Regions from separate parts of the Homo sapiens genome. Here region 1 is linked to region 2. Evidence: promoter capture Hi-C in 16 types of primary human blood cells and fetal thymus (Javierre and others, 2016). All regions are on one chromosome and are shown on one strand. The core of a region is centred on a gene start or on the middle of the fragment in contact, and the rest is flanking DNA. Distances in the headings are between cores, read along the strand shown.

What was found. Contacts are between HindIII fragments. The CHiCAGO score rates a contact against its expected background, and 5 or more counts as called.
Region 1: a contact is called between the fragment with the promoter of RNF8 here and the fragment with the promoter of CPNE5 in region 2, in 4 of 17 cell types (non-activated CD4 T cells, erythroblasts, M1 macrophages and 1 more). The highest score is 7.9, in non-activated CD4 T cells.

What each region holds. Positions count from the first base shown.
Region 1 is chr6:37,351,600-37,355,707 of GRCh38, forward strand. RNF8 (ring finger protein 8) reads left to right here and starts at 2,384. Exons shown (of 8, transcript NM_003958.4): 1 at 2,384-2,676. The coding sequence starts at 2,566. RefSeq lists a silencer at 2,237-2,336 and an enhancer at 2,637-2,686. The HindIII fragment of the contact is 12,469 bases long and covers 1-3,627 here.
Region 2 is chr6:36,837,851-36,842,296 of GRCh38, forward strand. CPNE5 (copine 5) reads right to left here and starts at 1,594. Exons shown (of 21, transcript NM_020939.2): 1 at 1,433-1,594. The coding sequence starts at 1,527. RefSeq lists a silencer at 2,058-2,267 and an enhancer at 2,952-3,502. The HindIII fragment of the contact is 11,867 bases long and covers 1-3,107 here.

The sequences.
Region 1 (4,108 bases), core at 1,134-3,633, 510 kb after region 2:
ACCAAAACCTCTCTGTGCCTCTTTTCTCATCATCTCTAACATAGGGATTATAATTGTAACCACTAATAACTGGCTAATTTTTCTTTTTTCTTTCTGTTTGCAAAGGACAAATAAAGTATGTAGGGTGCTTCGCCTAGTACCTGGCACTTAGCACTCAGTAAATGTTAGCTATTTACTATTGTACACTGTGTAATTCATTTAGTGTATGTATTTTCTTTTCTTGTTGTTTTGTTTGTGTATTTGTTTTTGAGACAGAGTGTTGCTCAGTCACCCAGGCTAGAGTACAGTGGTGTGATCTCAGCTCACTGCAACTTCTGCCTCCCAGGCTCAAGGGATCCTCCCACCTCAGCCTCCCTGGTAGCTGGGATTACAGGTGCTCACCACCATGCCCAGATCATTTTTGTATTTTTACTAGAGACAGGGTTTCACCATGTTGGCCAGGCTGGTCTGGAACCCCTGACCTCAGGTGATCCACCTGCCTCGGCCTCCCAAAGTGCTGGGATTACAGGCGTGAGCCGCCACACTTGGCTGTGTGTGTGTTTTTTGTTTTTGTTTTTGTTTTTTTTGTTGTTGTTGTTTTGATGGAGTTTCACTCTTGTTGTCCAGGCTGGAGTGCAATGGCGAGATCTCGGCTCACCGCCACCTCTGCCTCCTGGGTTCAAGCGAGTCTCCTGGCTCAGCCTCCTGAGTGGCTGGGATTACAGGCACACGCCACCACGCTGGGCTAACTTTGTATTTTTAGTAGAGACGGTGTTTCTCCATGTTGGTCAGGCTGGTCTTGAACTCCCAACCTTAGGTGATCCGCCTGCCTCGGCCTCTCAAAAGTGCTGAGATTACAGGCATGAGCCACCATGCCCAGCCCGGCTGGTTTTTTGACAGAATTTTATTTAGGAAAATTGTTTTCCTTCTTTCCCCTTGTGCAAAAAAAAAAAAAAAAGAGAGGAAGAAGGGAGGAAGGAAGGAAGGAAGGAGAGAAAGAAAGAGAGAGAAAGAAGAAAAGAGAAAGAAAAAAGAAAAGAAAGAAAGAGAAGGAAGGAAGGAAAGAAAGAAGAAAGAAATTGTTAACTGGGTGTTGGAAAACTGAAAAGACAAAAGGGGCTCAACCATTGGATGTACTCACTGCAGGCAGCAGCTATCACACTATATGGAAAATCCAAAGGAGAGGCTGAGTTTAAAAACAATTTTTTAATTGGCCGGGCTCGGGGGCTCATGCTTGTAATCTCAGCACTTTGGGAGGCTGAGGCGGTTGGATCACTTGAATCCAGGAGACACGGCGAAACCCGGTATCTACCAAAAAATATAAAAATTAGCCGGGCGTGGTGGCGCGTGCCTGTAATCCCAGCTACTCTGGAGGCTGAGGCAGGAGAATCTCTTGAACCCGGGAGGCGGAGGTTGCAGTGAGCTGAGATCGCACCACTCCAGGCTGCACTCCAGCCTGGGTGACAGGGCGAGACCCTGTCTGTAATCAGTAATAATAATAATAAAATTAACAGCTTTATTGAGTATAATTTACATGCCATAAAATTCACCCACTGGAAGTTTACACTTTCTTCACTTTACAGGGTCTCACTCTGTCGCCCAGGCTGGGATGCAGTGGCGCCATGTCGGCTCACTGCAACCTCTGCCTCCCGGGGTCAGGTGATCCTCCCACCTCAGCCTCCCAAGTAGCCGGACTACAGGTGTGCACCACCACACCTAGCTAATTTTTCTTTTTTTTCTTTTTTCCTTTCTCTCCCTCCCTTCCTCCTTTTTTTTTTTTTTTTTTTGTAGATACGGTGTCTCCCCATGTGGCCAGGTTGGTCACAACTCCTGAACTCAAGTGATCCGCGCGTCTCGACCTCCCAAAGTGCTGGGATTACAGGCGTGAGCCACTGCGTCCGGCCACACTTCCATGACTTTTTAATAAACTTATACAGTTGTACAATTGTCACCACAATCCACTTTTAGAACATTTCTATTACCGCTTTCCTCCAATTTTTTCAAGCCCATCTGCATTCAATACCCGCTCCCACACCTCGCCCCAGGTAACTGTGCTCTTTGTCTTTGTAGATTTGCCTAGTGTAATTTATTTTTTACTTCGGTAATATAAGTAGGTCGTGCAAAATAGAGACTATTTAGCAACAGACTAGGCAGACTTAAATCCGATGGAAAGTTTAAAGTTGTTTAAAAGTGGGCTATAGTTTCACATGACTTTTTTAAAAAGAGGAAAGGTGAGAAGAGGTTCCAGTCTGGGGCGGCTAGGACTGGGGTGATGGTTCTGGAGGCGGCGAGGGAAGGTGTGAGGCGAGGAGACCTCTCGAATCGCGCCCGCCCCGCCCAGGGCCGGATTGGCTCCCAACCCACCCTCTTTGCTCCAGGGCGGCCGCCGTCCTCTTGCGCAGGCGTAGTGCTCCTGCTTCCTGGCCGAGGGCGGGCGAGCGGAGCCTGCTTTCGCAGCGATCGCGAGCGTGTGGCGATTGCTTCTGTCTGTTATTTAGATATGGAAGCTGAGGGGATGCACAGAGGCAGCCAGAACCTAGGTCAGGGTCTCGCTCGGTGCTGACCGCCCCCGGGGTCGAGTAGGCGATGGGGGAGCCCGGCTTCTTCGTCACAGGAGACCGCGCCGGTGGCCGGAGCTGGTGCCTGCGGCGGGTGGGGATGAGCGCCGGGTGGCTGCTGCTGGAAGATGGGTGCGAGGTACGGGGGAAGGGGTCCTGTGGAGCGGAGGGCAGGGGCTGGAGGGAGCGGGGCTCCGGGGAGGGAGGAAGGTGTCTTGCTGGGCTGAATGAATGGCAGAGAGGAGGCGGGCATCAGGAAGAGGAGCGAAGTGTCTGTGGGGGGGGTGGATTCCTGGGGAGAGAAGGGAGAAAGCGGTTCTGGCGCGAGCGGCTGAAGGGTCTGCGGTGGGAGGTGTTTGGGGGAGAAATAGGGGCCGAGTGGGAGAAAGGAAGAAAAGAGAGTTCGGCTCTGGGGAGCCCGGGGGGGCCACAAGGGTTGGGGCGAGGACGGAGGCCCTGACCCGCGGCCTGTGGGGCGAGAAGCGGGCCCCGTCCAGAGAGGCCTGGGTCAGCGGGTAGCTGGGCCGGGGACTGGGAGGAGAGGGACGCGCAGGGAACGTGAGGAGATGCGGGGGTGTCGAGGAGGGGAGGGCGGGGGCTGGCCAGATCCCGTTTAGGGCGCACAGAGCCCCGCGGTGCCAGGTCGGGGAACGGTGGCGGGGGCCGCGAGCTGCCGGGAAGCCGAGGCAGGGCCCGGCGCCTGAACTTTCTCGAGTTTGTTTTGAAAACGATTGCAAATTTTGGGTTTTGTCCCTTAAAGCAATCAAACTTTCACGTAGAAATGTCTTCCTCCTTCCCAACTCTGAGGAACATGGGCGGCTTGGGCTGGGCCACATTTCTCCTGTGAGGCTCGGTACGGCCGAGTGGCACTCCCTGAGGTGGGTCGGGCAGGTATTCAGAGTTCTCTCCAGAGGCTGCCTGTCGTCTTTATTAATGCAGTTGCAAATGAAAAATATTTTAAGGGGAAAGATGAGGTACCGTTCCTGGCACGGTTCAAGATGCACCAGCGTGGTGCATCTTGAAAAGACGAGGGAAGGGAGGAGGGAGTTAGATTGCAATCAGGTTGAGAAGGAGAACTGGGTCAGGGACAAGCTTGTGATGACTGGGAACCATTTGGGTTTTGGAAATAATCTGTATGAAAAGTTCTCTTTGCAGTAAAAGTGGATGGTTGGTCATGATGTAAATTCAAGAAGTATTTTGAGTCTCATGTGTGTTCAGGTAGATTTTTCCTATAAGCCGTACTGCCTCAATTCAGTCTGCCAGGTATTTACTGAGTATTTAACATTGTTTGGTGTACAATGAGGACAAATAAAATTTCTGCGCTCGAAGAGTTTAAGGCTTGAGTGGGGAGAGAGGATTTATACAATGAAGCAGTCATCGTATAAAGAACATCCATATGGGCTGTATGATCAAGTGCTAAGATTTGGATTATTTAGTTCCTTCCCAGAGCAGTAGTTCTTCAAGTCAGAGGAGGAATTCATGTCTAGGCACAAATTTAATTGCTAGATTAGGGAGTGTTATAAAGGGTTACTTGTATGCTGTGGTTTGAGGAACACCAAGAAAACATCTCT
Region 2 (4,446 bases), core at 344-2,843:
CGTGCAGGAGAAGGGTGGGGAGGCCGTGCTGCTTTTGATGGCTGAGGAGGTGAGACTGGAGCTAATGGGCCATCAGGAATCTCCCAGCAGAGTAATGACAAGATGCAAATGGCGTTGGGAGATGATCCTGACGGCATGGTGTATGGGACCTGGGAGCTATCACAGGAGCCCCCAGAGGGCCTGGCTTAGGGGGGAAGCTACGTTCAACCAGACTAGCCTTCACTGCCACTTATCCCCAAGTCTTCAAGAGAAAGTCACACTGAGTCCTTCCCTCCTTCACGCCCCTGCCCAGACTCTCCAGCTCTACCTACACCTCATCAATGCCACAACTTTGTAATACAGGACTGGGGGGCAACAAGGTTACCTCTCATGGAGGGTCTGACCAAGGAGCAACCTGGAAGAGGATGAGATGGGTGATTTCGAACAAGGGCACAGCCAGGGCTCCAGAAATGCTGTCGGTGATCTGGGGCAGGGGGCATGGCCTCTGTGGGGGAACCTCAAAGTGGGTGATGCTTGCGTGGCAGCACATGATCCTAGGCCAGCCACAGAGAGACTGAACTAGGGAAAAATCCCCCTTTGCCACCCATACCCTCTTACTGCCAGGGGCAGCCTTCCCCTAGCTAGGAGAACCTGGGGTCGACCCAGCTCTTAGACAGAGAAGTTACCCCCAAACCCTGTGTGACATGAGTGAAGATTTGGGCGTGGTAGCCCACAAAAATATTCCCCCTCCTCCTCTGTTGGACTCTACAGTTTCACAATCAGTGTTCTATTCCTTTGGCTTAAGATTTTTGACCCAAGTTATTTTTTTAATGGTGCCACTTTAAGTTGTTATCATGTATCCACACCTTAGTATGAATGAGTCAATCTGATCCTTTTCCAGGAGTCGATTTCGTTGTTGATAGAGATGAAGGAAGGCTTTAAAATCCTAGAGTCTAGGACAGTGGGGTGGGGGAGACTGGTGAGGGGAGGATCAGGATGCTGGGGCAAAGAAGGGGCAAAGAGAGAAGAGAGGAGGGCACAGAAGGGAGAGGGTGGACGAGCCTGGGAGGGATGGGGGCAAATCACTCACTTCGTGATTTGGGGATGGGGTGATCAGAGATAGCCTGAGCAGAGACCGTAGTACAGCCTTTTACCAACTCCCTCTCCCCACTTGGGTGCCTGGACCCCCTGTTCCTGTGTCTTCATATCTCCTCGATGCAACAGCCTGGAGCGCAAACTTTCTGGGATATGACCCCAGCCTGGCTTCCTATTCTGCCGTCGCCACCCGCAGCTGGACAGGACAGGGGCTCTTGGCAGATCGGCAGGGGCGCAGTCCTGGAGACCAGGACACTCTGGGAAGGGGGCGCGCGGAGGTTTAGGATCGAAGCGGCAGGGGCCGCGGGGCTCTGCGTCCAGGGCCGGGGCAAGGGGACCCGGCCAGCGGGAGGCTCACCTGCAGGACACGGTGATCTCCACCTTGGTGGCCGGGATGCTGCCCGCCAAGGAGTCGAACTCGCTCAGCGACGCCATGTCCTCAGGCTGCTCCATCGCCCACCGCACCCCCCACCCCAAATTAGTCAATCCCTGCGCGATTCACGCCTCCTCCGGAGCGACTGGAGCCCTGGGCTCTCCCCCAACTCCAGAGCCTGGGCTGGGCGGCAAGGGGAGGAGAGAGGAGCGCGAAGAGGGGGCGTGGGAAGTGAGAGAGGGAAGAGGGCGGAGGGAGCGGGGGCCGCGGATCGAGGAGGGGGCTCGGGTGACGCCGCGAGGAGGCTAGGGGCCCAGTGGGGAAGGGCAAGGAGCCCAGGGAGCGGGGGCACAGCGGGGAAGGCAGAGAGGGGCGCGGGGAGAGGGGCTCGGGGAGAGGGCACCGGGAGGGAAACGCGGAGTCGTGGAGAGGGGCACCAGGAGAGGGACGCGCGTCTGTGGGCAGAGGTAGAGGGGATGCAGAAGACAGGGAGAGGGGCGTGAGGAGCGGGAGGCGCCGGATGGGGCGCTGGCGGCGGGGGTGGCGGGGCGCCGGCAGCGCGGAGCCCGAGCGCCCGGGCTGCGCCGCCTCTCCCTGGGTCTTGGCGCCGGCGGCGACGGGGCTGAGACGCGGCTGCGAGCGCCACCTCCTCGGCTCGGGCTTCGGCTCCGGGGCGCCCGGGCTGCGGGAAAATCAAATCTGCCCGAAGCCGCAGCCTCCCGCCGCCCGGGAACGCCAGAGGGGGCGCCCGCAGGGGCCGGGGCGGGGCCGCGGGCGGGGTCTGCGCGCAGGGTGAGTGTGAGCGTGTGTGTGTGCGCGTGTGTGTGTGTGTGCGCGCGTGGCGGGCCGGGGGACGCGGTCCAGATGCTGGGGACGTGGCGGGTGACAGCAAGAGGTGGTCCTGGTCGCGCGCATCTTCATTTGCGCCCGCCCCCTCTCACCACCCCTATCTCCCATCAGGGGTCTCCATCCTGGGGGAGGGGGAGGGTTATGGGAACCAACGGGCGCCTTTTTGAGAAAGGTCTATGCAGGGTTGAGAGGGGGCATAAGTGGGAGGGAGGTGTGCAAAAAAGATCCCCTCCCAGGGGCTTGGGTGTGGAGGGTCTCTGCTGAGTGTGCGCCCTACTCGGGGGCGGGTCTCAGTTCAGAAACAGACCCTACATCTCCTTCTGGGGAGGTGTGTGGGGGCGACCCCAGTGCCAGGAGGGACTACCTCGGTTTCCCAGTGGCCCAGGTGGGGTCGGTGCATGGGCGCCTCCCCCATCCGTGGTTCCCGCCAGCCGCGGCCTCGCCAAGTCGGCTGCCGAAACCACGCGCCAGCGCCCTTCCACTCCCCCGCCCGTCGTGACCACACGACTGAGCCAGCCTCCAGGTCTAGAAGCTCCTGCCACCCAGTCTGGTGGCAACCAGACTGGGAGATCGGCCCGAGCTCCCTGGGCTTCTATGCAGCCAGCACCGAGTAGGCGCGTGCTGTGTGCCTGGCGAGCGAGGGGAGAGTTGGGACACCTCTCCTGCAGTCCTCTTCCCAGCCAAGCCCCTCGCGATCCCCCGCCCTAGCCCAGCCTTGCCCTCCCGGGCATGAGGTTGCAGCGCAGAGGCGTCTCCCTGAGTAAGGCTGCACACGTAGACTTGACTCTAGCCCATCCTCAGCCTCAGCCTAAGCTTTGCCGAGCTGGAACCTCCACTTCCTCGCCCACCGCCTGGCACATCGAAGCCGATGTGCCTCGGGCCGGCGGGGAGGCCAAAAACCTGGTGCTGGGCTGGGCAGAGTTGCGCTCTCTGGGCCTTGTTTGTGGCAGCGGGACCATAAGGGGCTCCTCCGGATTCTGTTTGAAGTCAATTCCTGGAACATCAGATACTGTCAGTCAAAGATAAATACAAGAACACATTCCTCTGCCTGTTACAATTTCCCCATGGCTCAGAATCAGCTGGACTGGGTTCTGCCTCCTGGAACAGGCAGCAAGGGACAGAGGCTGTTAATTCCCCTGACAGCCAGGCACAGCTGGGTCAGGAGGCCCCACTCCAAGGAGAATAATTCTGTCTTCCCTTCCTGAGGATGCAAAACTGAACTCGGAATCTCTATGTTCCCCATCCCCCACATACCTGGCATAAACAATGCTCAAAGCATGCTTGTGGAATATGTTCTCCATTCATTCCAGGAGTGTTTACTGAGCATCTGCTGTGTGCCTGGCCCAGTGACAGGGCCTTGGGAAACCTTGTTCATAACAATAATTAGCATCGTTTTATTTTCAAAGATCTGGGCCAGACACCATGCTTACTTTTTTTTTTTGAAATATTAGTCACATACCATAAAATTACCATTTTAAGTTGTATAAATCAGCGGTTTGTAGCATATTCACAGGGACCGTGCATGATTTTAAATTCTCAAAATAATTTTATAAGTGAGATATTATTACTTTTAATGGGAAAAGCTGCAGTTACTTTGCACCAACCTAATATTATCTACATTTAATAAGTAAGGAAGCCAGTGCCCAGAGAGGCTAAGTAACTTACTCATCATCACCCAGCTGGGGACTGGCATAGTGAGAATGTGAAACAAGGCAGTTGAGACCAAAGCCTGACTCTGAGCAAGAGGCTCCACTCTCTTTTAGGATAGGGCCAGACGATGGAAAATCATCCATGAAATGAGGCCTTGTTGGGAAAGGCAACAATAGGGAGCCATTGCAGGTTGTTGAGCAGGTGAGTAGTAAGATTGAAGTTCTACCCAGTAACCTTGCAAAGTGACAGCATTTGGAGTAGCAGCCCCAGGGTCTCTTGTAGACACTTGTCTGTGTCACTCCATTCCCTTTTAGTCGTTGCACTTTCACTGCTGGCTATTTGGCAAAAAAAAAAAAAAAAAAAAAGAAAAAGAAAAAAGAAAAGAAAAGAAAAGAAAAAGAAAAAAGAAAAAAATGTATATATATGACACATGCTGTGTGCTGGGTGCAGTCCTAGGCTCAGAGAATAAAAGGCAAAAAGGACACAGTATCTATCCCCAA